4 separate regions of the Homo sapiens genome follow, and regions 2, 3 and 4 are each linked to region 1. Evidence: promoter capture Hi-C in 16 types of primary human blood cells and fetal thymus (Javierre and others, 2016). All regions are on one chromosome and are shown on one strand. Each heading gives the region's core, a stretch centred on a gene start or on the middle of the fragment in contact. The rest is flanking DNA. Distances are from core to core; before and after follow the strand shown.

Region 1 (7,200 bases), core at 3,501-6,000:
TCTCTAATATAACTTAATAATCTGCCCATATTTAAATTTCCCTTTTGTCTTTAAAGATACTTTTGTAGGTACTTGGTTTACACATATTAATAGTTTTGAACCAGGATAAAAACAAGGTTTATACTTTGTATTTGCATATCTATTAGAATTCAATCCAGAAAGCTAGTTTAAAAAATTATTATTCATTTTCAAGTCACATTGATGGTCTCAAAAATGCAGACCAGTTTTTTTTATGTCCCTCAGGATCTGCTTCCCTATTTCCACATGGTGTAGTTTGCCTTGTTTTTCTTTCTCCTCTGTTGGCCATAGACTGGCAACTGGATCTAGAACCTTGCTCAGGTTATGTGATTATAATCACTGATAGTCATGATTCTTTGTGATGTTCCCATTGTCCGGAATTTGTCTGCAGCGAGTGTCTGTAAGCTAGCTTCTGTCCCTTTTTCATGTGATCCTGTTAATCTCTGAGTGCGCTTTTGCTTCTTGTCACAGGAATATGTCACAGCCACACCTTGTGTTTTCTCCCTATTCCTGGAACCTGAGATTTCTCCAAGGAGCACTGCTTTGTTTTCTTTTTCTTAAAGTGGGTAAAAATTATTTGCAAACAAAAATATAGATGCTGGATTTACTCATTAATATTAGAGTGCTATTTCTTCAAGAATCTTTTAGTGGTCTAAACCAATATCTATATCTATACCCACATAGATATAGATGTAATTTTATTTTTCAACTCAAATTTATAAGGTTTCTTCTTCTTTTATTTTTCTATTTGTATTTTAAACATATAAAAACCAAAATACATGAGGAAAAATTTAGATGTTTTTTCCTGCTGCAGCAAGGAAGAATGCAACCATAGAGAACCATAGGGCATCCAAAAGTGGGGAGGTAGAAAGGATACAGGGGTTTGGGGTTAAAATAGGATGATCTTGGCAGGAACTGGTCAGAATTTATAAACTAAGTGAGTTACTGCCACAGTCAGGAGTTTCACCTTTAGAAATCATGGGTTCCTGATGAGTTGTTAGATCAGTAGACCTGTCTGCTCTTCAAGAAGCTATGTAGCTGAATGAGCTGGTGTTAAAAAAAGTTTGAGCTTGGCCAATTTGTTTTGCATGCTATGATTTGGTGCAGTTTATTTGTTTTGTGAACCGCAGAACAGTTTTGCAAGTTAAGGTTTTTATTTCAATTATCAATTTCCCCTACCTGCAAACAAGAATATTTATTTATCTATTTATTTTATAAACAGTTTCACTGAGGTATAACTGACATATTTTAAATGCATTAATTTATTATATATAATTTAATGAGTTGCATACACTTAAAAAATTGTCACCACAATCAAGGTAATAGATATACCCATCCCCTCCAAGTTTCCTCATGCCTGTTTGTTGTTGCTGTTGCTATTTGCTTATGTTTTGTAACAGCATGTAACATGGATCTAGCCTCTTAGCACATTTTCAAGTGTATAATACAGTATTTTTAACTATAGCTATGCCCTATGGTTCTTATGTTGTACAGTGGATCTCTAGAATTTACTTATCTTTATGACTGAAACCTTATACCCATTGAATATACTCCCCATTTCCCTCCCCCCGAACTCTTGGCAATCAGCATTCTATTCTCTGCTTTTATGAGTCTATTTTAGATTCCACATATAAGTGAGGTCATGCAATTTTTGTCCTCTGTAACTGGCTTTATTTTTTTAGCATAATGTCCTTCAGGTTTATCCATGTTGTTTCAAATGACAGAACACACTTGTTTTTTAAAGTTGAATAATTCTCTCTCTCTCACAGACACACACACACATACACCAAATTTTCTTTATCTATTTATCTGTTGATGGACATTTGTGTTTTCTCATATCTTGGCCATTGTGAATAATGCTACAGTGAACATGGGAGTGCAGATATTTCTTTAAGATTCTGATTTTTATTCTTTTGAATATATTCCTAGTAGTGGTATTGCTGGATCATGTAGTAGGTAATTTTTTGGGAAACCTCCATACTGTTTTGCAGCGTTGCCTCACCATTTCACATTCTCAACAGTGTAAAAGGATTCCGGTTTCTCTATATCCTTATCAATGCTCATCTATTTTTTTGTAATAGCCATCCTAACAGGTAGGAGGTGATATATCACTATTGTTTTGATTTGCATTTCTCTGATTATTAGTAATGTTGAGAACCTTTTCAATATATTTTCAAAATATTGTATTTTATTTCTGAGCTCTCTATTCTGTTTCATTCATCTATGTGTCTATTTTTATGCCAGTTCCATACTGTCTTAATTACTGTAGATTTGTTATACATTTTGAAATCAGTAAGTGTGATGCCTCCAGCTTTGTTCTTCATTCTCAGGTCACTTTGACTATTCTGGGTGTTTTGTGCTAAGCTCCTGGCTTGACTTCATGGACCATCCAATATATGCAACCCCATAATTAACACATTTTCTAGTTTCCCTATCTAAAGCTTTAGACATCTTGGGGCTTTGCTGATCCTGGAGAGACTGACCCTCCCTGGGCTTGCCAGTTCTTAGAGATACTACAGGATTCTCCTGCAAGTGTGCCTTTCATATGCAAACCAACCAACCTGGAGCCCACACCCCGCCACTTTCTCTGTTGGCTCTCATTCTCTGGGCCACTATCCATCTGCCCTACTCACCGAAAGGCCAAATATCAAAAGTAAGAACAATCCCTCTGCCCCAGAGCCCACTGAAATTATTCCAGCTAGCCAGTCCTAAACCTGCTTGCCCTGCTAGTTCTAGTTCACAGTTGCTCTCGACATTTACTCCAGTTCTTTGCCTCCTTGACTGCAATTGGAACCACCTGGAGGTGGGGCGAGGCTTTAAAAAAACACTCACACTCACCCTCAACTCTAGACTTACTAAATCAGAGTCTCTGGTGATGGATCAGAGCTCAAGTTTTTAAGGAGAACCTCAATTGATGTTTATGTGCAGCAAGTATTAAGAATCACTGGTTTAGTCTTATAACATCTAAAGGAGGCCTCCTACTAGACTCTTTACTTTAGACAAGCTCTGGTCTTTGACTTTTGGCCTCTTCATAAATGCCTTCCAAACTGAAGGTCACATTCCCTTGGTTGGCAAATGCTATTAGAAAAAAAACAGCTTCAATACTCCACTTAACTCTTTGGGCGTTCACCTTCCCTTGGAATTTGGTCTTTAAGATCATTCATGACAAATTAGTCAATTTTTAATATTGCTTTTGAAAATATTAAACATTTTTGAATCCAGAATTTTCCTTTTTTTTTGAGATGGAGTCTCGCTCTGTCGCCCAGGCTGGAGTGCAGTGGCACAATCTCGGCTCACTGCAAGCTCTGCCTCCCAGGTTCACACCATTCTCCTGCCTCAGTCTCCTGAGGAGCTGGGACTACAGGTGCCCGCCACCACACCCGGCTAATTTTTTTGTATTTCTAGTAGAGAGAGACAGGGTTTCCCCCTGTTAGCCAGGATGGTCTTGATCTCCTGACCTCGTGATCCGCCCGCCTCGGCCTCCCAAAGTGCTGGGATTACAGGAGTGAGCCACCGCACCTGGCCCAGAATTTTACATTTTTAACACAAGTCTTTGTCTGAATAGAGTATTCAGATTAGTCTACCACACTCCCCAAATCCTCAGCCTAAGTTATTGCCAAAACTCATGTCTGCTCATTCTGCCACTTGCTTCTGTTCTCAAATCCATTTAGCAGTGCAGCCATGGTAGACAGTCCCAGCATGCTGCTATGTCCTCTGTAGAGAGTCTTTCTCCTTTTCTCACTCAGATGTTTCTCCAAGCTGTGAAAGGGTGTCTATTTTGCCCAAGGGCAGCTTGTGAATTCAAAATAGTTAAAGTCCCTGGGGATAAGACTCAACCAATGGAAACTGTGGGTTGTTGGATAAATAGTCCACATCAAGGGTCCCAAACCCCCAGAGCATGGTCTGTTAGAAACTGGGCCACACAGGAGGTGAGTAGGGAGAGAGCACTAAGGCCTGAGACCTGCCTCCTGTCAGATCAGCAGCAGCATTAGATTCTCATAGGAGCTTGTACACTGTTATGCACTGCACATTCCACCTTCTATGTCCATGTATGCAGATTTTTTAGCTTCCACTTATGAGTAAGAATGTGGTATTTGACTTTCGGTTTCTGAGTTGTTTCACCTAAGATAATGAACTCCAGTTCCATCCATGTTGCTGTAAAAGACATGGTTCATTCTTTTTTTAAACCAGTAATATCTTTAGCTCTCTCTCTTTCTCTCTCTCTCTTCTGTGTGTGTGTGTGCATGTGTGAACACATTTAAAATATCAAAAGTTCTTCACTAACAAAAGACCCCAGAACTCAAGAATTCCCACTAAGAGAAAAATGCTTAAAATATTCTTGGTTTCTAAGGCTTTGCTTATGTGACTACTGTAGATTTCCTGTTTTTCTTGTGTGCCTAGGAAACTAAAGCCACCTGGGAACGGTATCAAGAAGAAAGCCTGTGAAGCCTTCTAAGATGGGAAAGACAAAAGAAAGCTGGCAGGATTGTGCTTGCTAAGGTGTGACTGTGCAGTATCTGTGGCTTTTTCTGACCTCCTCCCACCCCTGCACCCAACACCCATCCTCAAACTCACATCGGATGATTCAGGCATGGCTCTGCTAACACTTTATTAAAAGCATGGATTAATTTTACTTCCAAGTTTATTTTTACTGCACCATCCCATTTGTGGAAACAACTAGCTTACTCAGCTTTTTTTTCCTTTTATAAAGGAAAGAACAGAAAAGTAAAAGGAGGAAAGAAAACAAGAGGTGAGTGAGGCAACTGAAAACTGTTCTTGGACCTGCGGTGCTATAGAGCAGGTATGTTCACTTTCTTTTAAATGCAACTTAGTTCCTAACTCAAGACTTGGTTTCTGATTCAGAGTGGTAACTGAGGAATGGGCAGGAAGGGCAGGGTGCCTGCTGCCTGGCCTGCAGGAGTCTGTGGCTGGCTTTAGTTCTGGGGAAGCTCAGCTTCTCCACTTGAACCAGTGACAGCCGGGCACGCCGCGTCCCCCTGGATGTGCTGTTCCCTGATCATCAACTCAGGACAGCAGTGAGTGGCCTGGAATGAGCCCTGGTGGGCGCCTGCCTGGCTATCTCTCTCAGGTCCTGCGGCAAGCCCCAGAATGCAGAGAACAAGGAGCTTCCAGGCAATTATACCGGAAGGGAGAGTTTCTTGTCTATCTTTCTAGTGGTCACACTTAGGAAAGCTTCAGAATAAGAGCTCTATAAATCTCTATGTAGAAATAAACTTAGGCCCCACATCACTGGTCTTTATTACTTAAAAATAATTATATAGTCCAAACTCTGTGTGTGCGTGTGTGTGTGTGTGTGTGTATGTGTGTGTGGGGAGGGGGTGGGGGAGGAGGGGGGTGTTAGTTTCCCATAGGAACATCAGAGTCTCTTGTAGCTCTTGCTAAACAGATGGATACTTAGGCCTGGGAATCTGGGTTTGAACAATCCTCTCAGTTGATTCTTTAAAAAAAAAAAAGATGAAGAATAGACACTATGTTTAAAATAAAAAAGATTTTTTTAAAAACCACCATGTCCCATGGTGGTTTGCTGCACCTATCAATCCGTCATCTAGGTTTTAAGCCCCGCATGCATTAGGTATTTGTCCTAATGCTCTCCCTCCCCTTGCCCTCCACCCACTGACAGGCCCCAGTGTGTGAGTTTCCCACCCCCACCCCCAGCGCCAACCCCCCGCCGCCCGTGTCCACATGTTCTCATTGTTCAACTCCCACTTACCAGTTAGAACACGCAGTTTTTGGTTTTCTGTTCCTGTGTTAGTTTGCTGAGAATGGGATCTAATTAAAGAGCTTCTGCACAGCAAAAGAAACTATCATCAGAGTGATCAGGTGATTCTTATGTACATCAGAGTGTGAAAACCAGTCCTGAATAGGATTGAACAGCTGTATTTCATTTAGTAGAAGTTAAAAGGTCTGTGGTTCCCACACAGCTAAGAAACCAGAGACCTGGTTTATATAAAGTTGTTTGCAGGAGCAGCCACATCTTCCTAGAGCTGCCTTTATTGTTCACTTTAAAGAAGGGACTGTACAGTTGCAGTCACTGTAATGTGATGAACACGTTACACATCACATTACAATGCATTTCACTGTGGAAATCAGGACCTCGTGTTTGATCTCCATTTTCCTTACTCCCCTCAGTGAAGAATCAGACAAGAGCAGGTTGTACAGCAACAGCGTGCTTGAACTTTACAGTTTTGCTTCCGTGAAAAATTTATTTGTAGTTTTTGTTTCTTAGTAACTTATAGTTTGTATATTTTGTTGAAATATATAATCTAATGGACCAATTGTTATTGTAATTATTGTAGTAACCTCCATTTAATTCAACATTTACTGAAATCCTATTGTGTGGTGCATGCTATGCAAAGATATAAACTTATAATGTCTCGTTTTATTATCAAAACACCCTCCAGGTTGGATGTATGATTTAACTCACAGACCCCTATAATTAACAGGCTCAGCTAGCTTGACCTCCTTGGTCAAGGCCACATAAGTAGTGAATGATAGAGCTGGTATTTTTGGTGGCATTAGATGCATCTTGAGTGTCTGACATATCAATTCTAAACTGAGTATTTGAGGCATTTGAAGACAATATTATGTTTACATTTTTCTAATTATAAGGAAATACAGGTATCATAGAAAACCATTTTAATATAATGGCAATAAAAATGTGCCAGGAGACCTACAGAATAATTGTACTTTCAATACTAAATTTATGGAATTAAACTTCACCTCTAAAAATATTACAATTAAATCCCATATGCCTTTCACCTCGATTCACCCAAAAGTGACATTGACTTTATCTCTCAAAAAGAAATCTCTCTAACTTATCTATTAATATGTATGTACATAATTTCTCTCTCTCTCTAGATATCTATAATTTATCTCCATAAATAATATGCAATATTATATGTATTGTTATTCTTATTCTTTTTCTTATTCTTGTCTGTGGGAGTAAATTGCAGAGAACCTGACCCTTCTAGGCTACGTATTTCAGCCTGTACTTGAATTCTTTAGATTCTGGACATTCTCCTGCTTCCCTTTTGGAAAGATAGCCTGTATTCTCTAGAGTTTTCTCATCCCATAGTGGATCCTTTCCCTTCTCCCTTCTATTCCCATCACTCTTCCAAACCTGTAGATAAAAGACAAACATATAAGGTCACACTGATGCAT
Region 2 (7,200 bases), core at 1,635-4,134, 210 kb before region 1:
TCGCTCCACTGTTGATGGCATCCAGGTAGGTCTCCACCAGCATCCCCAGCCCTGAATGATTTAGGAAATTTAGGGAATAGATAGAAAGTTTTCACTCATTGTTTTACGAGTGGTATGTATCAGCATTCTAAAAATCAGAAAAAATTCCATTTAACATGAATTTTCCCTCCTTCTCCTTCTTTCAATTCTACTATTACTACTACTACTTTTTATGGAGTCACTTTCCTACGATAACATGACTGTTGTTCCTATTTATTCTTTCTATTTTGTTCTCCAGCTCATCACATTACAAAGTTAATTACTAATCACAAACAATATGTAGCAAGGGTTTCTTGAAAAAAAAAAACTTTTCTGCTTAAGTAAAAATTTAAAAGCGTTTATTCAGCAAAGTAAATTATATCATTTGTGGATCATAATTCTGAATGTAAATGCAGGTGCTTTTATAAAAACACTTAAGACAGTGCCAGAACATCAAACCCTGTGAGAAGCTCTTTTCTATACAGAGCACTAAAAGACTGCACAGGTAACATGTTCATGAAGCCAGCTTTGTTTATAAGATTACGCTGAATTTTGTATCTCAAAATCTCAATAGGCTTGCAGAAACTCATGACATGCTACTTACTTTCTGTTTTGTGTAAATTCACAATACAGCTTTTATACCCTCACTGAGAAAAAATCCTTCACTTATCCCACACCTCATAACACAGATGTTATCTCCTTACCAGTTGTTCGTGCTCATAAGCTTAGTTTACTAGTTTTTGAGATACAGTAGGCCTCAGTAAACACCCATATAGGGAAATAGACTCACGGTTTCCAGTGACAAGGATTCCCTCTCTCAGGGTCTTGGTCTTTGCATGGGTGAAGATATAAGAACAGAAATTTTCTGATTGCATCTGGAAATTACTATCCAGTTGGTCTTCTCGTACTTCTTCAACATGGAGTAAGAGTTTTTTGTCATTTATTGGCCGGTCAAAGACAAAGCACTTCTGTTTTGGAAAGAAATGCCTGATCCACTCCCTGGGCTTGTTAGAATTTTGGATTTGGGGATTCTTGCCTGCAGAATTAGTGAAAAAGTGACTACTGAAGAACAGGTTTTAAGTGAGCCTGAAGATTTTCATTTCCAAAGTTCCTTCCATCAATCACTACAGTCTCTTGTGTCTGTGAATCTACTCTATGTAATCAAACCTCTCATGCAACCAAACTTATGCTAATCTACTTAAGGTATGAAAAGTCAATTTCTGCACAAAGCAGAGTCAAAAAGGTACTTCTGGAAATGAAGGGAATGCATCCACCTCAAGTGAAGGAATTTGTGGTTGGTTTCCTCAGCCACTGTATGATGTCCCGTAGACTGACGATTTTTAAAATGTTTGTTGAATTATGATTAACTAAAATATGATAAGAAGTACTTTCTTTAAAAATTGTATATATTTAAGGCGTTATAACATGATGTTTCGATATACATGTACATAGTGAAATTACTACTAAGTAAGCAAATTATATATCCAATACTTTCTATACTTTTCTTCCCTTTTTTTGTGGTAAGAGTACCTAAAATCTAATCTCTGTAAATTTTAAATGTAAAATACAATATTGTTAAGGATAGTTCTCCTGCAGTATATTAGAGCCCTAGACTTTCCCACCCTATATAACTTCAAGTTTGTACCCTTCACCCACATGTCCTCATTTCCTCCCTCACCATGCCCTGGTAACCACTGTTCTACTCTCTGTTTCTATGTATTTGACGTTTTGAAATAGAATCCATATAGAAATGAGGTCCTGTCATATTTTTCTTCCTGTTTCTGGCTAATATTACATAGCATCATGGACTTTCTCAATCTTACTGTCCCCATGTCAGAAATGAAATGTTGGGCTTAAAATTTAAATGCTAGAAACAAGGACAAGATGTGGCTGGGAAAAATGTTTGAAAGAGACGGAAAATACTCAGGTCAGATTATATTAGGTCTAACATTGTCTTGCAGAGGGATTCTGTGACATATATCAGTTATTCAAAACAAATATTTGTTGAAAGGATGAACAAATGAACAAAGATGGATATTGATTGTAGGTGCCAACAGGTATCCACTCCACTAAATATAATCTGTTTAACAAATGTATAATAGATTGACAACATATTATATGAGACTGTAGAATGAAGTAGGTGATGTTATGAAAATGGTAAAATAAAGGATTTGACAGTCCTACTGGAAGCATATGTCTGTGTATTTTTTTTTTAATTTCCTGAATCATTAACTGTATGAATCTCCTTTTTCTCTAAAGGTTATAAGTATCCAGGCTAATAAAATAGACTGAGTGAAATATATTTCCAAAATTGGATCATTTGACTTCTTGCGATTCTGTGTTTACCAGCTTCCAAGCTTATTAGTTAATTTTCTCCAAATAGAATAGGAGGAGCACTTGAAGTTAATAAGTAACACAAATATATGAGTCTTAGGATGTGATAATACTAATTGTAATCCTCAATATATTTTTCATGGTACTTATTGGTCTAAAATCATTTGATAGAACTTTGAGATTTAAATTTCCTCAATGAATTTGAACCTCAGCCTCTGGGAAATTTCAAGCAAAAATAACCACAAAAATCATAATCACTTATCAATCACCAACCACCATGAGCAAGGGCCTCAATCCAGTCCAATATAAAAATTTGTGTCAGGTGTTGAACGGTAGGTCCTAGTTGATCCCACCCGCTACTGAACCTTCTCCCATCTAGGCCATGCTCTGATACCTGAAATCAGCTTCAAGGCATTCTCCAGGTACTCATCTTCTGTGATGGGGTGTCCATCTAACTTCAGCTCCAGGGTAAAATCTCGAACAGTCCAAATAAAGTCTGGAAAGAAACTCACAAACTCGCTGGAGTCCTCAACTTCATCAGGTCTGGGGCACGATTTTGCCCTGATTAGCTCTGTTAGCTCAGTCACGTAGCTGGGATCTCAGCTAAGGAAGGATAGCACCCTACACCATCATTTCCACATCTCACTTAGAAACAAGTTTTATACACATTCCCTTTTGCACTGTTTCTCTTCTTACTCAACCAGGACAACTGAGTCACAACAAAGAAGACACAGTATCAGTTTCCATTCCCCTAAACTCCATAAAACCTGGCTCTTCACTTCCTGGAAGGATACTGCAGCTGCTCCAGGGCCTGGTGGTTGATGGTGCCCATGCTGTTGTAGACAAAGCTGCTGCTTAGAAGCACAGCCAGGGCAAAGATCCACGAGTCACTCTTAGGGTCACTCTAGTGTTAAAGAAAAAAAAAAAAAAAATGGAAGCCACAGTTTAGATACATCTCAAGGTCAACTACTTGTATCCATGTAACCAAAACTGAAGTCATTCCAGTTTTCCCAAAATGCTGTGTCTAAAGGAAACACAAATGTAAGCTTTATATGCTTGCCAGCATGATTCAGTGAAATTAAATAAATCAGCTATAGAAAAAGCACCTAAACATCTCTATTTGCCCTAAAAATATTGTTAATGTATAAAGCCAATCACACGATAAGTAAATATATTTCTTCCTTTATGCTTTATCAGTGGTGCTGTAACCATTATGAGGAGAGCATCTTGGTATGAAGTCTCCTGAATGATGCTCTCTACTTTTTGTATGCAATAAACTTAAATTTTTCCAAACTTAATCTGATATTGTTTGTGACACTAGAAAGCACATTACAGATAGGACTTAAGAGTCTCCTTTTGATTCATTCACTTATTAATTCATTCATTTGGTTGTTCATTCACTATTTCAGCTGTAGTATATATAGCTGAATAGTAGGGCATGTAATATGAATTTTGAAGATCATGTTAAAGTCAAGCTGTATTTTTGCCATTTATATTGATTTTCTCAGGGCTTCTCTTTCTTTAGATATTAAAAGTAGCAATTGACACTGTCAATGTGTAAAATATTTAATGCAGTGCCTACAGCATAGTAAGTATGTAGTAATTAGTGAACAATAATCCTTTTGCAAATTTTCTCAATCATGCCTATATTAGGAATGCCAATGTTAATCAATTGAATTCACCAAAAATTGTTCAGCTATGTACAAAATGCAGATGCTGCCTTTGATTTTGTGGATGCAAAGTTCCATAATCACAAGAAGATGACTTTCAGGAGTGGCAGATAGCATTGTCAACATAAAAATGCAACCAAGATGATAACTTCTGCCAGGAGTGGAACAAAAGTCGTAATGTAAAAAACAAAACAGACAACAATCCAAAAAATGGGAAGTGAGAAGGAAGGAAAATAAAGAGAAACAAATGCTCTATGAGTTCAAGCAAGAAGTTACTATGTCTAACTCAAATAAGATGGCAGTAGGTTGAAACGAGCTGGACGTTAAGGAGTACATAAAATCAGGACTTGTGGAAATGAAAGAATTAAAAAGGTGAGAGACCCAACAGAACCCAAGTCAAAATTGTTAGGGTATGATCATATAATGACATTACAGAGTTATTTAATTCAACTGAATGAGTGAATAGGTATGTGGAGAAGACAAGGCTGGAAATAATATTCAGGGCAAGACATGAAGGTCCCTTAAATAGAATTAAATGCTGACCAAATCCACAAATTCCAAGGCCAACAAGTAATTTTGCTTCCATCAAGCATGTATATATTTGTATATTTTGGTCCCTTGAACAGTCATACTTTTGCAAATAAAAAAGTTTATGCCCATTACAATCTATTTCAAATCAATATTTTATCTTTGTTGTACACTGAAATGATGATTGATAACTTTAGTACTGTATGTTTAAATTCACTGTTTCTAAATGAGACCCCACACACATTTATAATTTTTGCAGTATGAAAGCCAAAAATTCTATTTTCTTTTTTTCTTTTTTTTGAGATGGAGACTTGCTCTGTTGCCCAGGCTGCAGTGCAATGGTGCAAACACTACAACCTCCACCTTCTGGGTTCAAGCAATTCTTCCACCTCAGCTTCTGAAATAGCTGGGATCACAGGCACCTGCCATCATGCCCAGCTAATTTTTGTATTTTTAATAGAGATGGGATTTCACCATGTTAGCCAGGCTGGTCTTGAACTCCTGACCTCAGGTGATCCACCCACCTTGGCCTCCCAGAGTGCTGGAATTACAGGTGTGAGCGACCACACCTGGCCTCTATTTTCCTTTTTTTTTTTTTAACTTTAAATTTAAGTTCAGGCTTACCCCCAAACTAAATAAAATAAAATAAAATAAAATAAAGAAGTTAAAAAATATTTTAAGTCCAGTGGTGCCCCTGAACTTAATGAAATACCATGAAAGTTAATAAAATTTAAAAAAAATAAAGAAAACATTCCTGTCTGACAGCTTTGAGGAGAGTAGTGGTTCTCCCAGCACAGAGTTTGAGATCTGAGAATGGACAGACTGCCTCCTCAAGTGGGTCCCCGACCCCCGAGTAGCCTAACTGGGAGGCACCTCCCAGTAGGGGCCGACTGACACCTCAAACAGCCGGGTGCCCCTCTGGGACAAAGCTTCCGGAGGAAGGATCAGGCAGCAACATTTGCCATTCTGCAATACTTGCTGTTCTGCAGCCTCCACTGGTGATACCCAGGCAAACAGGGTCTGGAGTGGACCTCCAGCAAACTCCAACAGACCTGCAGCTGAAGGCCCTGACTGTTAGAAGGAAAACTAACAAACAGAAAGGACATCCACACCAAAACCCCATCTGTGCATCACCATTGCAAAGACCAAAGGTAGATAAAACCACAAAGATGGGGAGAAACCAGAGCAGAAAAGCTGAAAATTCTAAAAATCAGAGCACCCCTTCTCCTCCAAAGGAATGCAGCTCCTCGCCAGCAATGGAACAAAGCTGGATAGAGAATGACTTTGACAAGTTGAGAGAAGAAGGCTTCAGACAATCAGTAGTAACAAACTTCTCCAAGCTAAAGGAGGATGTTCGAACCCATCACAAAGAAGCTAAAAACCTTGAAAAAAGATTAGACGAATGGCTAACTAGAATAAACAGCATAGAGAAGACCTTAAATAACCTGATGGAGCTGGAAAGCATGGCACGAGAACTACGTGATGCATGCACAAGCTTCAGTAGCCAATTTGATCAAGTGGAAGAAAGGGTAACAGTGATTGAAGATCAAATGAATGAAATGAAGTGAGAAGAGAAGTTTAGAGAAAAAAGAGTAAAAAGAAATGAACAAAGCCTCCAAGAAATATGGGACCATGTGAAAAGACCAAATCTCTGTCTGACTGGTGTACCTGAAAGTGATGGGGAGAATGGAACCAAGTTGGAAAACACTCTTCAGGATATTATCCAGGAGAACTTCCCCAACCTAGCAAGGCAGGCCAACATTCAAATTCAGGAAATACACAGAATGCCACAAAGATACTCCTCGAGAAAAGCAACTCCAAGACACATAATTGTCAGATTCACCAAAGTTGAAATGAAGGAAAAAATGTTAAGGGCAGCCAGAGAGAAAGGTCAGGTTACCCACAAAGGGAAGCCCATCAGACTAATAGCAGATCTCTTGGCAGAAACTCTACAAGCCAGAAGAGAGTGGGGGCCAATATTCAACATTCTTAAAAGAATTTTCAACCCAGAATTTCATATCCAGCCAAACTAAGCTTCATAAGTGAAGGATAAATAAAATACTTTACAGACAAGCGAATGCTGAGAGATTTTGTCACCACCAGGCCTGCCTTACAAGAACTCCTGAAGGAAGCACTAAACATAGAAAGGATCAGCCAGTATCAGCCACTGCAAAAGCATGCCAAATTGTAAAGACCATCTATGCTAGGAAGAAACTGCATCAACTAACTAGCAAAATAACCAGCTAACATCATAATGACAGGATCAAATTCACACATAACAATATTAACCTTAAATGTAAATGGGCTAAATGCTCCAATTAAAAGACACAGACTGGCAAATTGGATAAAGAGACAAGACCCATCAGTGTGCTGTATTCAAGAGACCCATCTCATGAGCAGAGACACACATAGTCTCAAGATAAAGGGATGGAGGAAGATCTACCAAGCAAATGGAAAACAAACAAAAAAAGCGGGGGTTGCAATCCTCATCTCTGATAAAACAGACTTTAAACAAACAAAGACTGAAAGAGACAAAGAAGGCCATTACATAATGATAAAGGGATCAATTCAACAACAAGAGCTAACTATCCTAAATATATATGCACCCAATACAGGAGCACCCAGATTCATAAAGCAAGTCCTTAGAGAC
Region 3 (7,200 bases), core at 3,431-5,930, 190 kb before region 1:
CCAAAGTGAGCTCATCTTGGAATGATCATCAGCCCCTGAAACCATGCATGGTATTCACTTGTTGAGCCCTTTGATTTCTTCATTTCCACAGCTGACCTTTTCTACTGTGTTGAGTCTCCCCTTGGGTTAAAATCCCTTCTTTTTGTCTAGTTCAGGATCTTATTTGGATAAGGTCACCTCAATAAAAGGCCTTGAATCCCTTCTTAGCCTAAAAACAACTTTGTCTTTTCTGGGAAGCCCTTCACAAGATAAGAACATTGTCCTTCTGGTGAGTACTCTGTGTTTTTTTGTTTGTTTGTTTGTTTTAACTTCTGCATGCCTGGTTTAATATTTTGTTTGGTCTGCCTGCTTGATTTAAAAATTTGGTGAATTGAGTGTTTTCTTACTTCTGAACATCTGCCAAGAGCAAAAATAAACGTACCAAACATAGGCATGGGTTGACCAATTTAAAGCAATTAAAGCAGTGCCATCATTAATGAGGGACTCCAGTCTCTGAAGATAAAGTATTTTGTGTGAAGGTAAACTGGCCATGGATGGGCAAGGTTACCATTAGAGCATCTGCCACACTTAAGAAAATGTCCATGCAGCAGGGAAAATGTGGTCATGGGTTGGACAACTAAGGCAATGACTGTCCACCAACTAAAATAAATACCCTGGACCAGGTACATTGTGAAACAAAACACGAGTCCAAACTCCTGACATTCCCAACCAGATTCATAGGATTTTATTTTTTTCTCTTCAGAGATTAATGAGAAACAAAATGAGATACTCAAATTTAAAGGCATGTCAGAATAATCTTTCTCCTGGGACTCTAGCCAGCTATATTTATGGTCCATCTCATGCACACTTCTCAATTGATGGGGAAATTACACCAACAGTAGTTTAGAATTACAATGGCCATTATGTGGAACATTCCAGATGAACTTTCAAGAACTGCACTTTAAGAAGAGCATTTAAAATTGGAAGGGATCCCAAACATCTCAGAAACAATGAGATGTATTTCTGATTGGCATATAGAGGCTTCTAACTTCTCTATTTTTGCTCTATTTTTCCTCTTACTTTTTCGCTTGGTTACCTACCCATTCCTAAGGAGAAAAAAAAGGAAAAGAACTAGATAAGTATTTATAAAAGTTAGGCTCTCCAGTCAACTAGGTCTGCTTTTTAACCCCTTTGTGCTTTGGCCAAAATCTAGAGCTCAGAGTAATAATAGGTCTCTCTGTGAGTAGAAAATGTCTTCACTTCCATATGGACCAGAGAAAACAGAAAAACTGAAAATAACCTTTTAAAAAATATTCCTAAAATATTTTCCACCCATGCTGACTAGTTGAGCAAAGCAAAACGCAAACAAAAGAAAGGTAAATTTGTTACTAAATTCAAGACTGCTTGGAGCATGTATTTTTCCACCAGCTCTAGCTAAAATATAAACACCTGATGAATTAACCACTATACTCATTTGAGACTGATTTTTTTTAAAAGGAAGACAAATATTTTTATACTTAAAACCAAACTGGCCAGGTGTGGTGGCTCACACCTGTAATCCCAGCATTTTGGGAGGCCAAGGCGGGTGGATCACCTGAGGTCAGGAGTTCAAGACCAGCCTGACCAACATGGAGAAACCCTGTCTCTACTAAAAATACAAACAACAACAACAACAACAACAACAACAACAAAAAACGGTAGCCAGGCATGGTGGCGGGCTCCTGTAATCCCAGCTACTCAGAAGGCTGAGGCAGGAGAATCGCTTGAACCCGGGAGGCGGAGGTTGCGGTGAGCTGAGATCTCGCCATTGCACTCCAGCCTGGGCAACAAGAGCGAAACTCCGCCTCAAGTTAAAAAAAAAACAAAAAACAAAAAAACTCCTGTGGAAGCTGCAGTTTACCCCAAATTTAGTCCACAGCCTCCATAGAATTAACAGTTAAAGGCAAATGGAAAATCTCAAAAGGTTAGCCATTTGAGCAAGTAACCTTAACTTATTCTGTTTTTTCAGAAAAATAAGTTTGGATTTAGCTGTCCTTTTTACAAACAAGTGAGTTTGTATCTCTGTTTTACCATGTTATGACTAAAATTTTTAAAGTGAAAAACCCTGTGACCTTTGCTTGTGTATGTATTTATGTTTGCATGTTTTGTGTATGTAATAATTTTCCCAAGATATGTGAAAGAGCTCTATTTAATTGGCTTAAAGTGTCAACGAAGCAAACTTAAAAGAGCCTCATGACTGTTCTTGCTGTACTTGTATAAATAATCAGGCTTTGTTTGATGAGGTTAAATTTATTCTGCAAACAAAGAAACCTTATCTTGGTAATAACTGGAACGACTAGAGGAGAAAATTTATGATTAAGAAAGGAAAACTATAGTTCATCTGTCATTAGATTGCAGCCCTATGCATTACTTTTGAGTTTATTATTATTTATCTACAACCTGGACTAAATTTTGAATTCTTCTAGGTTTGTCCAACCCAATTTTCTGGCCTGGAATTGCTAAAATAAAAAACTGCTCTGTTCCTGAAGCTCTATACACTAAAGCTACACAACTCAATGTAAATTTCAAGAGATGAGTCTCATGTCTCATGTTTGGGCCACACAAAAAGTTCACCAAACCACTCAATGCCATACCCAAAGACATTTAGTGTGTAAACCAGTATGAGAAGTTGATGGCTTCATGCTATGGACAGCTTTTTCTAAGAATGATAGAACAATACTTATAAAAATGAGACTCTTATCCTTCTTAAATTTTCTTTGCTTGTGCCTTCTTTTTCACTTGACAGGATAATGCTATAGTTATAATTTCATAATCAGCAGCTTCTGTGCGTACTTGATGGAATGTTGGATCTGTCATGCCAATCCCAAATCTTTACCTGACCTAACAGATGCTTTCTTCCATGTAGTGAATCACTTTGGCAATATTCCTAACACAACTTTTTGTTCAAATTGTACCAGTGATCCCTTTTTACAGAGTTAGCACTCTCGGCTTTAATTTAACCAAGTTATGAGATGCTAAATAATAGAATCACTAATCAAACTACATAAAAGACTCAATGCCTATAAAAAATCTTACCCAGTTCCACATGGTCTTTTAATTTGTTTAATTGGCCTCTTGGTTCAGAACCATCATCCAAAATGAATTTGTTATGCTCCTGTTGGTTTTGCTTTGCATTATTTTCTTTAAGCTTTGTACCTGTTACCTGTCTGACTTCTGCAGAAACGACACTCCTAACAGAATAATGCTGGCTCAGCACTTAAAGAATATGCTGAAAATGTGGAATTGAAAAAATTGACTTAATAATGAATTCCAGGTAGAATTAGCCTGAAACCCACTCCTTCCCAACCTCCTTGTTGCTCAAATGTGGCTAAAATGGTTTTGAAAATGACTCCCAGTCACCAATCACTTTCCCCTGACTTGGGACCAAACCAACCAAATCAAGTGCATCCAAGCACTAGGGAACACAAAGTATAAAACTACAGGATGATCGATCAGAGATGCTTTCAGAGAAAGATCTTGATCAAAGGGGGAACTGCAAAAGTTGTCAGAAGCAAAATGGAGTCACTTATGCCAAACCCTAACAAAATGGAGTCAGGAGTTCATGAAGGAAGGGCTTTCATGTATACTTTCTTGTAGTGGAAACTGCCATTAAGACATTGCCAAACTACAACCTTGCGACAAAGGCTACTTCTGTACTTCCAGTAATAGCCAGTCCTAACCACAATCTTGCAAGTGGCCTTACTTGCTGCCATCAGGGTCCCTGCAGTCAGGGTTCTATGCATAAAACTCTCTCAAGCAACAGCTAATGCACATGTCCCCACCTGCAATATGATCCTGTAAACCAATGAACTTTCATTTTACATCAACTGGCGTATATGTCTCCTTTTTGCCTTTAAAAGTTTCTCACTGCCTTAACATTTCCAGATGAGTTTATTATTTGTTATAGCATGCATTTCCAGAATTTATAAATCCCCTGCTTATTCCTGAATATATTCATTTCTTTGGAGAGTGACTATCTGTTGTTATTGTGAGTTAACAGAGGAACTCAAGATATGGTAGTCAAATCACTCATTTCCTGAATGATGAAACTGAAGAGTAGAAATAGTAACTGATTGGCTTAGTTAGAAAGACATACAAACTACACTTTAACATCAGCCTTCTGACTGGTAGCTTGGTGCTTTGTAAGCCACACTGAGCCCCTGACACTGGACAACAGTCTCATGTAAAAGAGATAAGAGAAATTATAACCAATAGTGACCTTAATTACAAAAAATAGAGAAATTAGAATATCCAATATGGATTGAAACATTCATTTTATCTTAAAGTTCTGTGGAAACTTGCTATCACTACATAAATATTTTAGTAAATATTTAATAATGCATTATTATTTAATTTTTTTATTAATACCTTATTTATATATGAAATGTGAAAATAAAGGCAAAGTGAGAAGAGTCAGTTGACTCCAATCCTCCAGAGTGAATTTGAAGGGTTCACTGATGAATTCAAAGTTAGCTATCAATACTTATCCCCAACACTAACTTTCTCTCATCCCATCTTCATACTAGATACTGACTGTGTAACTGGACAGATGGGGCTCATCCATGCTTTGCTGGTGCCACTCACCTTTGTTCTTCCCAGCCAGCTTGTTCATTAGGTAGGATTTGCCTGTGCGGTAGAGGCCCACAATTGCCACCACTACTACAGGCTGTGTAATGGCAGACAGGATTTCCAGAGCTTCTGAATTCACCACCAGATGCCCTTTAGTGTTCTCAGTGAGGCACACTGGGCCTGGCATGTGGATCTCTGATGCCATGTTCAGGGCGTTCCTCTGTCTGCAAGGAAAAAATGAAATGGAAAGTAATGTCTGGTAAGTCAGTTGAGCTGAAATCTATAATAGGGCATAAATCTTTGTTTTCTATTCTTGAACATTGTTTCTTGTGCATTTCTAAGGAGACCTGTGGCCCTTTAAGGCTGTCCTATAGACTGGGCCACTGTCTGCCCTTTAAAATAATTTCATTTTGAAATAGACTTACAGAAGCATGATAGGTATGAAGAGTGCCCATACACCACTTCCCTGGCTTCCCCTAATGTCGATATTTTACTTAACCATAGAACAATTACTGAAACCAGGGTTTTAGCATCAATACAATGATAACTAATCTACACTCCTTATTCACATTTCACCATTTTCCCACTAATGTCCTTCTGCTTCATGATCCAATCCAGGATCCCTCATTGCATTTAGTCATTATGTTTCTGTAGTTTTCTTGCATCTTTGATAGTTCGTTATTCGTTCTTTGTCTTTCATGTCTTTGACATTTTAGAATAGCACTGGCCTGTGATTTTGAGGAATATCCTTCAATTTGGAGTTTTCTGATGTTTCCTCATTGATTGAAGTTATGCATTTTTTTTTGCAAATGTCACAGAAGTGATGTTCTGCCATTTTCAGTGTCTTGTATTAAGGGATTCATGATGTTGACATTACTTTTTCTGGTGCTATGGCCTTAACTTTGATCACTTGGTTAAAGTGCTTGCTGCCAGATTTCGCCACCTTAAAGAGTTATGTGCCACTTTGTCACTAAAAAGTTTCCATTTTGAGAAACAGTTTGGAGACTATGCAAATACAATCTCATCATACTTTTTTTTTTTTCAGCCACTACTTTTAGTTTTTATTGATGATTCTTTTTGTGGTGTTTGACTAAATAGGATTTTCTATTATAGTCATTCTTTCTATATTAACTGGAGTTCTACCGTGAGCAAGGGCTGTTCCTTCTTTATTTATTTTGTTTGCTCATTTAATCATTTACTTGTATCAATGCAGACTCAGAGATATTAGTTTTATTCTGAGGGTTTCAATACTTTACTGTCAATATTTGTTCTGTTACTCAACTTGTCCTAGATTTTGTCATTGAGAGCTTCTTCAAGCTGGATCCATTTTTTTTTTACATGCTTCCATCATATTTTCAGCGCTTCTTTCCTTTTTGGCTCCACAACGTATTCTAGAAAAAATATCTGTATTTTTCCTGCTTTATCCCTAGAATCTAACATTTCTCCCAGTATCTTTGGTTTCTTTCAATGGATAATGGTACTTTGACACCAATATATCACTCTAGGTGTGTTCATTATTTCTAGACCCACTCAGGGGCAAAGTTAAGAAATATATGTATGTATACTAGGACACATCTATATTTATTTTTATCTGTACATTTCTATAATAAAGCTTGAGATTCTGTTGATATTTCCAGTTCCAATCCAACACATCTGAGCTTATTCAAGCTTTTGACTTTCCTTTTTAAACTATTTTCTCCAAGTAAGCTAGACTTTGGTCTTCTAACACATAATACATTTGTTTCCTTGCTCAGTCCTAGTATATTCATATAGTAGTTTCAAAATTGATAATAAGTCTGTGGAAAAATAAATTTACTTCCTATAGAAAATTATTAGTGTACAGTTCTTTTGGTCTTTAGCCTTATATACACACTCAAAACATTGCATTCCAAAGTTGCTTAGGTTAGCTTTTTCCTTCTCCACCTTCTTCAGTATGGTTAAATTATTCATTTGTAAAACAGTTAGTTACATTTGTTACTGTTTGTGTTTCAGTTTGGCCTCCTTCACATCTTGGTATCTTGGTTGATTTTAAGTATGATTTATTTTTTGAGTTTGTGAAACATCATGGTTCTGAAATGCAGAGCTTTTCAAAAAGTTACAGTCAGAGAAGTGTCACTTTTCCTTCATCTTACCACTCCACTCACATTGCAGTGGTCTTCTATTCTTTCTACCACATTCCCACCCATCCTCCATAGATACCCAATCTTGTTAGTTTCTGGTTTACGCTTCTTGGATTTTCTTTTCTCAAATGAGAATGTACATATTTTCTTTTTCACATTTTCTAACACGAAGATCACATCATATAGAAATTTGGAAATCCCTCCACATCTGTTCATAGAAAGCTTTTAAAATCCTTTTAACATGTATCTACTCCTTTATGTGGATTATACCCCAGTTTATTCAATCACTCTTCAATGTATGGGCATTTAGATTGTTTCAAATATTTTGCAATTACAAACAATGCTGCAATGAATAACTCTGCTAACGTTATGCATGTGTATTTTTATATTGTTACAGGAGTAATTTCAGGATAGAGTCCTACCAACGGGATTGCTTGGTCAAAAGATGAGAGTATATAATTTTGTAGATATTGCCAAGTTCCTCTCCAGAAAG
Region 4 (7,200 bases), core at 2,368-4,867, 150 kb before region 1:
TATGTTTCCCAAGATTGTGGAATTGTTTTCATCTATAAATTGCTAATATCTGATAGTTCAGGATTTCTTGTTTCCTAGGGTTTCACTAAAATTTAAGGTTACTAAGGATAAGAATTATGGTTAATATATAATTCTGTATATAAAATATGCCAAAGAAGCTGAGCTCTTATTGAGAAAAAATTATTTTGTCAAATTCAGAAGTTATCTAAAGGCTAATTTATAGACTTAAAACAGTTATTTATGAAACAAGGTAGAAAGGAACTAGTAAGTAGCAGAGAGAGATGTGAAGAAAGCTATGGATGTGAGGATATATTTTTGATAATGAAGGTTATAAAGAAAAGATAATAATTTTATATGAAAATGGATCTTATATGGTGTATTTTTGTCCTAAAATGAAATGACTGGTTATTTAAAAAGAAAGGAAAATTTAGGACAGAACAGAAAGTCTAAGCATGCCATAGATGATCTAGGTAAGTCACATGTCATTTCTTCCCTGTTTCTCTGTGTGTCTACCTTCATGCTTATACAGGGAAAACAGAAAGTTGAAAAAATTTAGATAGTAAAATATTCTTTAAAACCTGATAGAAACTTGAAGAAATTTGGCTAATTAACATTGCTCATGGTCAAAGTTCTTAAACTTGGTGAAGATAACTTAAGAAATATTGTAATGAAATATATTAGTAGTTTGGTAATTCTTTTTAGTATAGTTAAGCATGAGCCCAGATTTAACATAGAGCCAAATTTTATGTAAATGCTTGCATTGCTTTGTTTTATACTGTGTTTGCTCTTCTGCATAGAATATACTAGCACTAAAATACTTACTGGTCATGGTGCCTAAAGTGAACCAGTTTTTTTTTTTTTTGAGATGGAGTCTCGCTCTGTCACCCAGGCTGGAGTGCAGTGGTGCGATCTTGGCTCACTGCAAGCTCTGCCTCTTGGGTTCAGGCCATTCTCCTGCCTCAGCCTCCTGAGTAGCTGGGACTACAGGCACCCGCCACCACACCTAGCTAATTTTTTGTATTTTTAGTAGAGACAGAGTTTCACCATGTTAGCCAGAGTGGTCTCAATCTCCTGACCTTGTGATCCTCCCACCTCGGCCTCCCAAAGTGCTGGGATTACAGGCATGACTCACCATGCCCAGCCACCTAAAGTGAACTTCTTAATTGCACACAATGTATAGTGGTATTGGTGGACTTAAAGATATTAATTTGTGTACCAGGAACAAAATACCTATTATGTGTTCATTTTTGGCTCTGAGTAACACTTTAGCCTTCAAGGTTAACTGAGTAGGAGAGAACTTTGGGGTTAGTTTCCAGTTTATTTGCTTTTGCTTTTAATTTTCACTTATTTTTGTTTGTTCTCTTTTGGGTTGTACTTATATACACACACATATAAAACCATTGATGCTTTTTGGTTTCTAATGGAAGGCTTTTATTTGGCTCTATGACCATGCATTTTGTTTCCTATACATTTCTAACAAATCATCATTTGTTCTATTTATCTATTTATCTAGAATTCCTAAGCTGCCTTTGTCAAGCAAATATTGATAAAGCACACCAGCCATTTAAAATTTGGTAGATTTGCTTACCTCTAATGATCTAGAGAGCTACAGGAGCTTTAAGGTTCCTGGAAAAAAATTACTTAATTTTATAAGTTCTGAGCACTAAGTGTACTTTATTAATTTTGTTATTTGAAAAAGTAGGTGAGAATAAAAATGTTTAAATGGTGTTTATTTTCAAGGTAATTCAATTCAACCAATAAATTGAGTTGGTTTCAGATCTTTTCCTTTAGTTAATGAAGAAAAACTGTGATATGGGTACAAAGTTTTAGGAAAGATTGGCTTTGTCCTTAAGGAAATTATATTGATTGGAATTTCTCTCTTAGTTGTGTTTACCATTATTAAAATTAAGTGACAGTCACTTGGATGAAGTAGTAAAACAATGTGAGACTTTCTAATGATCTTTGATCTCAAGCCATTTATCATGGGCCTTGATGTGTGTACTTGAAAACAAAATATGTGCTAGTGTTCCACTGATTTGAAGATTTTATTGGTCAAAGTCACCTAATCATTTGTCAGTACTGTATCTAGAAAGCAATCATGGAAATATGTGATGATGCCCTTTTAAAAGAGCTGAAGGAGACATTACTGTGTGCTTACCCTTACTTTGTTTATATTTTGTTGTATAATATTTAAATGCAAACAGTTTGTTTATTCATCCTCATATTGAATTTCCCAAACTGATTTTTTTCCCTTACCATTCTTTTAAATGATGGAGAGGAAAGTTACTTGTCTTACTTTGATAAGTTTGGCATAGAGCTTATCATATTTCTGATGCCTTTGGTCACAGTTATGTTACTAGAGTGCTAGCAATTAGACATATGCAGTGAGTAACCTAACTACTCTAATACAGTGGTTTGAAGTGCTACAGGCAGTAGCTGTTAGATACCAAATCACAGTGTTTTAATTTGTAATATGTTAGAGAGAATGATAGAACTTTCCATAGTATAAATATTCTATTAACTAATCCTTGTGCTGTTATCTTATAGGCCTTTGACCCCTGGGTCTGAAAAAGGCACTGACTTCTGCCGAATCTTAAGCTTTGACATCACTCAAAGCCTCATTTTCAGACCTGGGAGAAGGTGACAATCAAAATGAACTGCCTTCATGAGACACAGGACCAGAAATTAAAACTGTGGTATCCCCCTAGGCCCAGGGACTATTGCAGAAGAGGTTGGCAAGTGAGATTGTAAGGGCTGATTTTGAGGGGTAAGATTAGTTCAGAGGTTTTCTGTAAGTTAAACATTAATATCAAAAGCACGTTAATGCAAGCATCTGGGCCTTGCATCAGACTAACAGAGGTTTTCTTGGAGCATTGATCTGCTCTTTAATAGAAAATTGTAATAGGCTATAAAATACTTATGGAAATACCCTATGGTCAAAAAAATTAAAATTAGATAGATTTGTTGATAAGGTTTTATTAAAGTTAGCTTTAACATTAAAAATACACCATACAAAGGTAAAATATGGCTTTCTCTTTTGAACAAAATTTTCATGTAAAAGATAAGAGAGTTTTGTTTGCCTTTTGAGTAAAACTACAGAAGAAAAAAATGGTGGGAGAAACACAGATTTAGTTGGCCTCATGCTGTCTTTCTTGGGTCTTATTGTTTAGGAAACTGAGTCTCCTATCAAAGAGAAAACATTTTTGTATCATAATTTTGGCAAAATGAATGACTGTTTTATGGTATCTTGTGATCCTATTTTGTGATATCAAGTGTTTTAAACCTTTGATATTTGACAGACTTTCCAACAGCAAAATTTCAAGTTCAAATTAAGTCTTTTTGACCTTAAACTAACTTTTTTTGGATATTAGGTTTCCTGAAGTCCAAGAAAGACATATTAGGTTTATTTATGTTAGAATTATACAGGAAGCATTGTCAAATTTGAAGTGGTGTTTAACTTTGGGTTTTATTTATATAGAAATATTGTTAATATGTGTTCCAAGATTGTATGACATTCCTGAAATTCTTATATATATTAATATATGTTGTCAGTAATAATTATGATTATTATGTTAGATTATTGTACACCACAGAAATAACCAAAGTTCCATGTCAACTGTGTGTCTCACTATGGTTGTCCTAAGGCTTTTGTCATCCACAATTGTTTTACTTTGATTCTTCTCAAAAAGTGACTTATAATTAGCTGCAGTCTGGGCCTTGCTTCTTTGGGGGAGTTCATGAAAATGACTCTTGAATGCAGGTTTCTGATAGCTTTGGAGATGGTGCCACTGGATTAGAGAGAAAACTTGCTGGACTCTAATTAAAAGGCTAATATGTTCAAAAAGTTTGCTAACATAATATGAAGCAGAGCAAGAGTTGATTGCACGGACGGAATAAAGGGAAGACTGAAATAATTTTATGGATTTTTTTGTTTGAAATATTACCAATTCTTTTTCTTTTGTTTTTCAGTCTGGAGAATTTTTTCTTTTGCACTATTTATGGCCTTCAAACATACTTTTATGTATATTGAATAGAGTATACTTTTGTAAACCAAATTTGAGACATATTTCTCTCTCTGCCCAATTTCTCAAGAATTTGCAAACTGTAAATTTTCTTAATTTATGGCAATGTGTTAGTTTGGATATGTTTAGTAAGAACCTGTTTTATAATGGGACACAGTTGGAGGAACTGGTTATTTTCCCAGAGCTTTGACTGAAATGGCCTTGTGAGAGGTTTCAGCAAAGCTAATTTAGGAGAGCCTATGTGGTCAATGATTCTTGCTGTACTTTGTGTGGGTAATCAGACCCAGTATATGAGCCTGAAGTTTATTTTGCAGGTAGGTTGGTCCTGCCGTGATTTGTCTTTAGTGAAAATAGGGGACTGGAGAGAGAAAAAAATGTGTTTTAGAAGAAAATTATAGTATTGAGTTAATCTTTGATTCTTGGGTGGCCACGTAGTCACCCTGAATAGGGAGCTGTCTATGATGCCCCTCCTCAGCAGGAAGCAGCCAGAAAGATCAATGACCAGATTCCCCATGATTGAGGAACTGATAAATAGAAAGGGGGGACTGAAACTGGCCTAATAGTCCCATAGACAGGTTTTTATGATAAACATAGAAATTGATCCTTCTGGTCTTAAAGCTTGAAACTTACATGTTTTATCTGAGTTTGTTCCTCTGGAAAGGATCCCAAGACCTCTCAAAAAGTATCAAAGAACTGAAACTCAGCAAATCATGGCATCGAGACAATGAGACACCAGGCCCCTCATTTATCCTGATTGCCTCCTTACTCCTTTCGAGTTCTTGTTTTCTCACACATAGTTACATCCTTCCCTGCTATATAAACCCCTAATTTTAGTTAGTCAGGGAGATGGATTTGGGACTGATTTCCCCTCTCCTTGGCTTCAGCACCCCGGTAAAGCTTTTTTCCTTGGCAATAATCATTGTCTCAATGATTGGCTTTCTGTGTGGTGAGCAGCAGGACCTACGTTTCTGTAATAGGATGTTACAGCACAGATTCTGGAGACTGCCAGAATTCAACCCCTTGGGTTCAAATCACCTATTTCCTATAAGACCATGGAGGTGAGCTTACCTCTCTAAGCCTCAATTTTCTAATCAATGTTATTGGTAAGCAGTAATGATTGCCTGATTTATTACTATACAGGTTAATAAGAAGTGGGCTCTCAATAAGTTTTCCTTACTTTGCCAGTATTAATATACTGTTTCTAGAATGGCCAAGTTGGGTAATGAGTTAATACATTCTGTAAGGGGTACATTACCAAGAAAAATTTTTTTAGGGGAAAAAACTCTCAATTGGGCTTTTAACAGACTCTCTTTTTTTCTTTATTTCTTCTAAAAAAAAAAAAACAACTAGATACACGTGCAGAAAGTGCAGGTTTGCTACATAGGAATACATGTGCCATGGTGGTTGGCTGCGCCTATTGACCCATCCTCTAAGTTTCTTCCCCTCACCCCCCACTCCCCCAACAGACCCTGGGGTTTGTTGTTCTCCTCTCTGTGTCCATGTGTTCTCAATGTTCAAGTCCCATTTACGAATGAGAATATGCTGTGTTTGGTTTTCTGTTCCTGTGTTAGGTTGCTGAGGATGATGGCTTCCAGCTTCATCCATATCCCTGCAAAGGACATGATCTCATTTTATGGCTGCATAATATTCCATGGTGTATATGTATCACATTTTCTTTATCCAGTCTATTGATGATGGGCATTTGGTTGGTTCCATGTCTTTACTTCTTTTCTTTACTATTGTAAATACTACTGCAATAAATGTACATGTGCATGTATCTTTATAATAGAATGATTTATATTCCTTTGGGTATATACCCAGTAATGGGATTGCTGGGTCAAATGGTATTTCTGGTTTTAGATCATTGAGGAATTGCCATACTGTCTTCCTCAATGGTTGAACTAATTTACATTCCCGCCAACAGTGTAAAAGCGTTCCTATTTCTCCACAGCCTCACCAGCATCTATTATTTCCTGACTTTTTAATCATCACCATTCTGACTGGTGTGAAATGTCTCATTGTGGCTTTGATTTGCATTTCTCTGATGATCAATGATGTTGAGATTTTTTTCATGTTTGTTAGCTGCGTAAATGTCTTCTTTTGAGAAGTATTTGTTCATATCCTTTGCCCACTTTTTGATGGGATTGTTTTAACAGACTCCTTCTTCCAATTTCTTTTCTTTTATTGCTGTGGACAGGAGAAATTGTAGAGGTTTTTTAAACATATCTAAAAAAGCTTTAAGAGGGAGTAGACGTGCTTACAAAGTTTTTTTTTTCTTTTTTCTTTTCTGCAAAGCAGGATGAAGGTATCCAAGGTAAGAAGCTTTTAACTCTAAAGGAAACAAGTAAAATTAGATAGCTCTGTTAGCTGAGGGTAGACCATCAGTGGCTTCCAAAACTTACTGTCCATGAGAATTATCTGCAGTGATGGTTACAAATGCTCCAAACCTGTAGTTTCAAAAAGTGCCACAAGTTATTCTGATGCACTTTAGTCATGGACCACACATTTATGAACAGTGCTCCATAAACAAATATGCTTATACCTTATTGTTATTTTTAACAATTTGTAAGTGTGACATTGAATTATTCCATATAATACAGCTTTGTAGTATCTACAGAATATTATTCATTGTGGATAATTAAAAAATAATTGAGCCTCTGTTTTAGTATTTAAATTTTCTTAAGGTAAGGACCATTTTGTTGTTGTTGTTGTTTCTCCAATGCGATGGCAAAAGACAGTCAGGCAATGTCTAAGGAAGAGAGATGAAGCAGGCTGGGGGTAGGGTGGAGAAAGCTATTCCACCCAGACCCTCTGTGAGGGGGCTGGATTTGGTCTCTTTGTTTGAGAAGTGACTACAGCTCTTGTTGCACAGAGAAGGGTAGGATGCATTCTTCCATGTCCTAGGTAGGGTTCTTTGCTACAGCCCTGAGTGGATACCCAAGGAGGAGGAGGAGCAGTGCATCCTGGGGATGTTGGGAGTGCACTGTCACCTCAAAGCCAACTCTGGACTAAATGGACATACTGGTTCTCTAGAAGCAAAGCACTCCACAAGCCATACAGCACAGGGCCACCTGCATGGTCCTCCAGCTAACTTAGCCCACCCTCTAGTGCAGTCTGTGTTTGGGAATTCATTGTTGTTTGTTAACCCAAATGTACATGAAAGGTAAAGCTTAGGAGT

Evidence for each region. Contacts are between HindIII fragments. The CHiCAGO score rates a contact against its expected background, and 5 or more counts as called.
Region 2: a fragment that was not itself captured here is called in contact with the fragment with the promoter of GBP6 in region 1 in 3 of 17 cell types (activated CD4 T cells, non-activated CD4 T cells and naive CD8 T cells); the score reaches 8.3 in activated CD4 T cells.
Region 3: a fragment that was not itself captured here is called in contact with the fragment with the promoter of GBP6 in region 1 in 7 of 17 cell types (activated CD4 T cells, non-activated CD4 T cells, naive CD8 T cells and 4 more); the score reaches 11.6 in activated CD4 T cells.
Region 4: a fragment that was not itself captured here is called in contact with the fragment with the promoter of GBP6 in region 1 in 2 of 17 cell types (non-activated CD4 T cells and total CD4 T cells); the score reaches 7.7 in non-activated CD4 T cells.

The regions. Positions count from the first base shown.
Region 1 is chr1:89,359,309-89,366,508 of GRCh38, forward strand. It overlaps GBP6 (guanylate binding protein family member 6), which reads left to right and starts at 4,751. Exons shown (of 11, transcript NM_198460.3): 1 at 4,751-4,819. The HindIII fragment of the contact is 2,752 bases long and covers 2,458-5,209 here.
Region 2 is chr1:89,149,522-89,156,721 of GRCh38, forward strand. It overlaps GBP7 (guanylate binding protein 7), which reads right to left. Exons shown (of 11, transcript NM_207398.3): 4 at 3,147-3,256; 5 at 2,747-2,943; 6 at 809-1,054; 7 at 1-51. LOC105378842 (a long non-coding RNA gene) reads left to right here. Exons shown (of 4, transcript XR_947579.3): 3 at 1-25. Among named protein-coding and RNA genes, the nearest start is that of GBP7, 23 kb to the right of the region's middle. RefSeq lists an enhancer at 1-409. The HindIII fragment of the contact is 1,023 bases long and covers 2,374-3,396 here.
Region 3 is chr1:89,167,144-89,174,343 of GRCh38, forward strand. GBP7 (guanylate binding protein 7) reads right to left here. Exons shown (of 11, transcript NM_207398.3): 2 at 4,603-4,811. The coding sequence starts at 4,792. The region is part of intron 3 of LOC105378842 (a long non-coding RNA gene); the gene reads left to right. Among named protein-coding and RNA genes, the nearest start is that of GBP7, 5.3 kb to the right of the region's middle. The HindIII fragment of the contact is 3,033 bases long and covers 3,165-6,197 here.
Region 4 is chr1:89,210,746-89,217,945 of GRCh38, forward strand. No RefSeq gene overlaps it. Among named protein-coding and RNA genes, the nearest start is that of GBP4, 15 kb to the left of the region's middle. The HindIII fragment of the contact is 2,042 bases long and covers 2,597-4,638 here.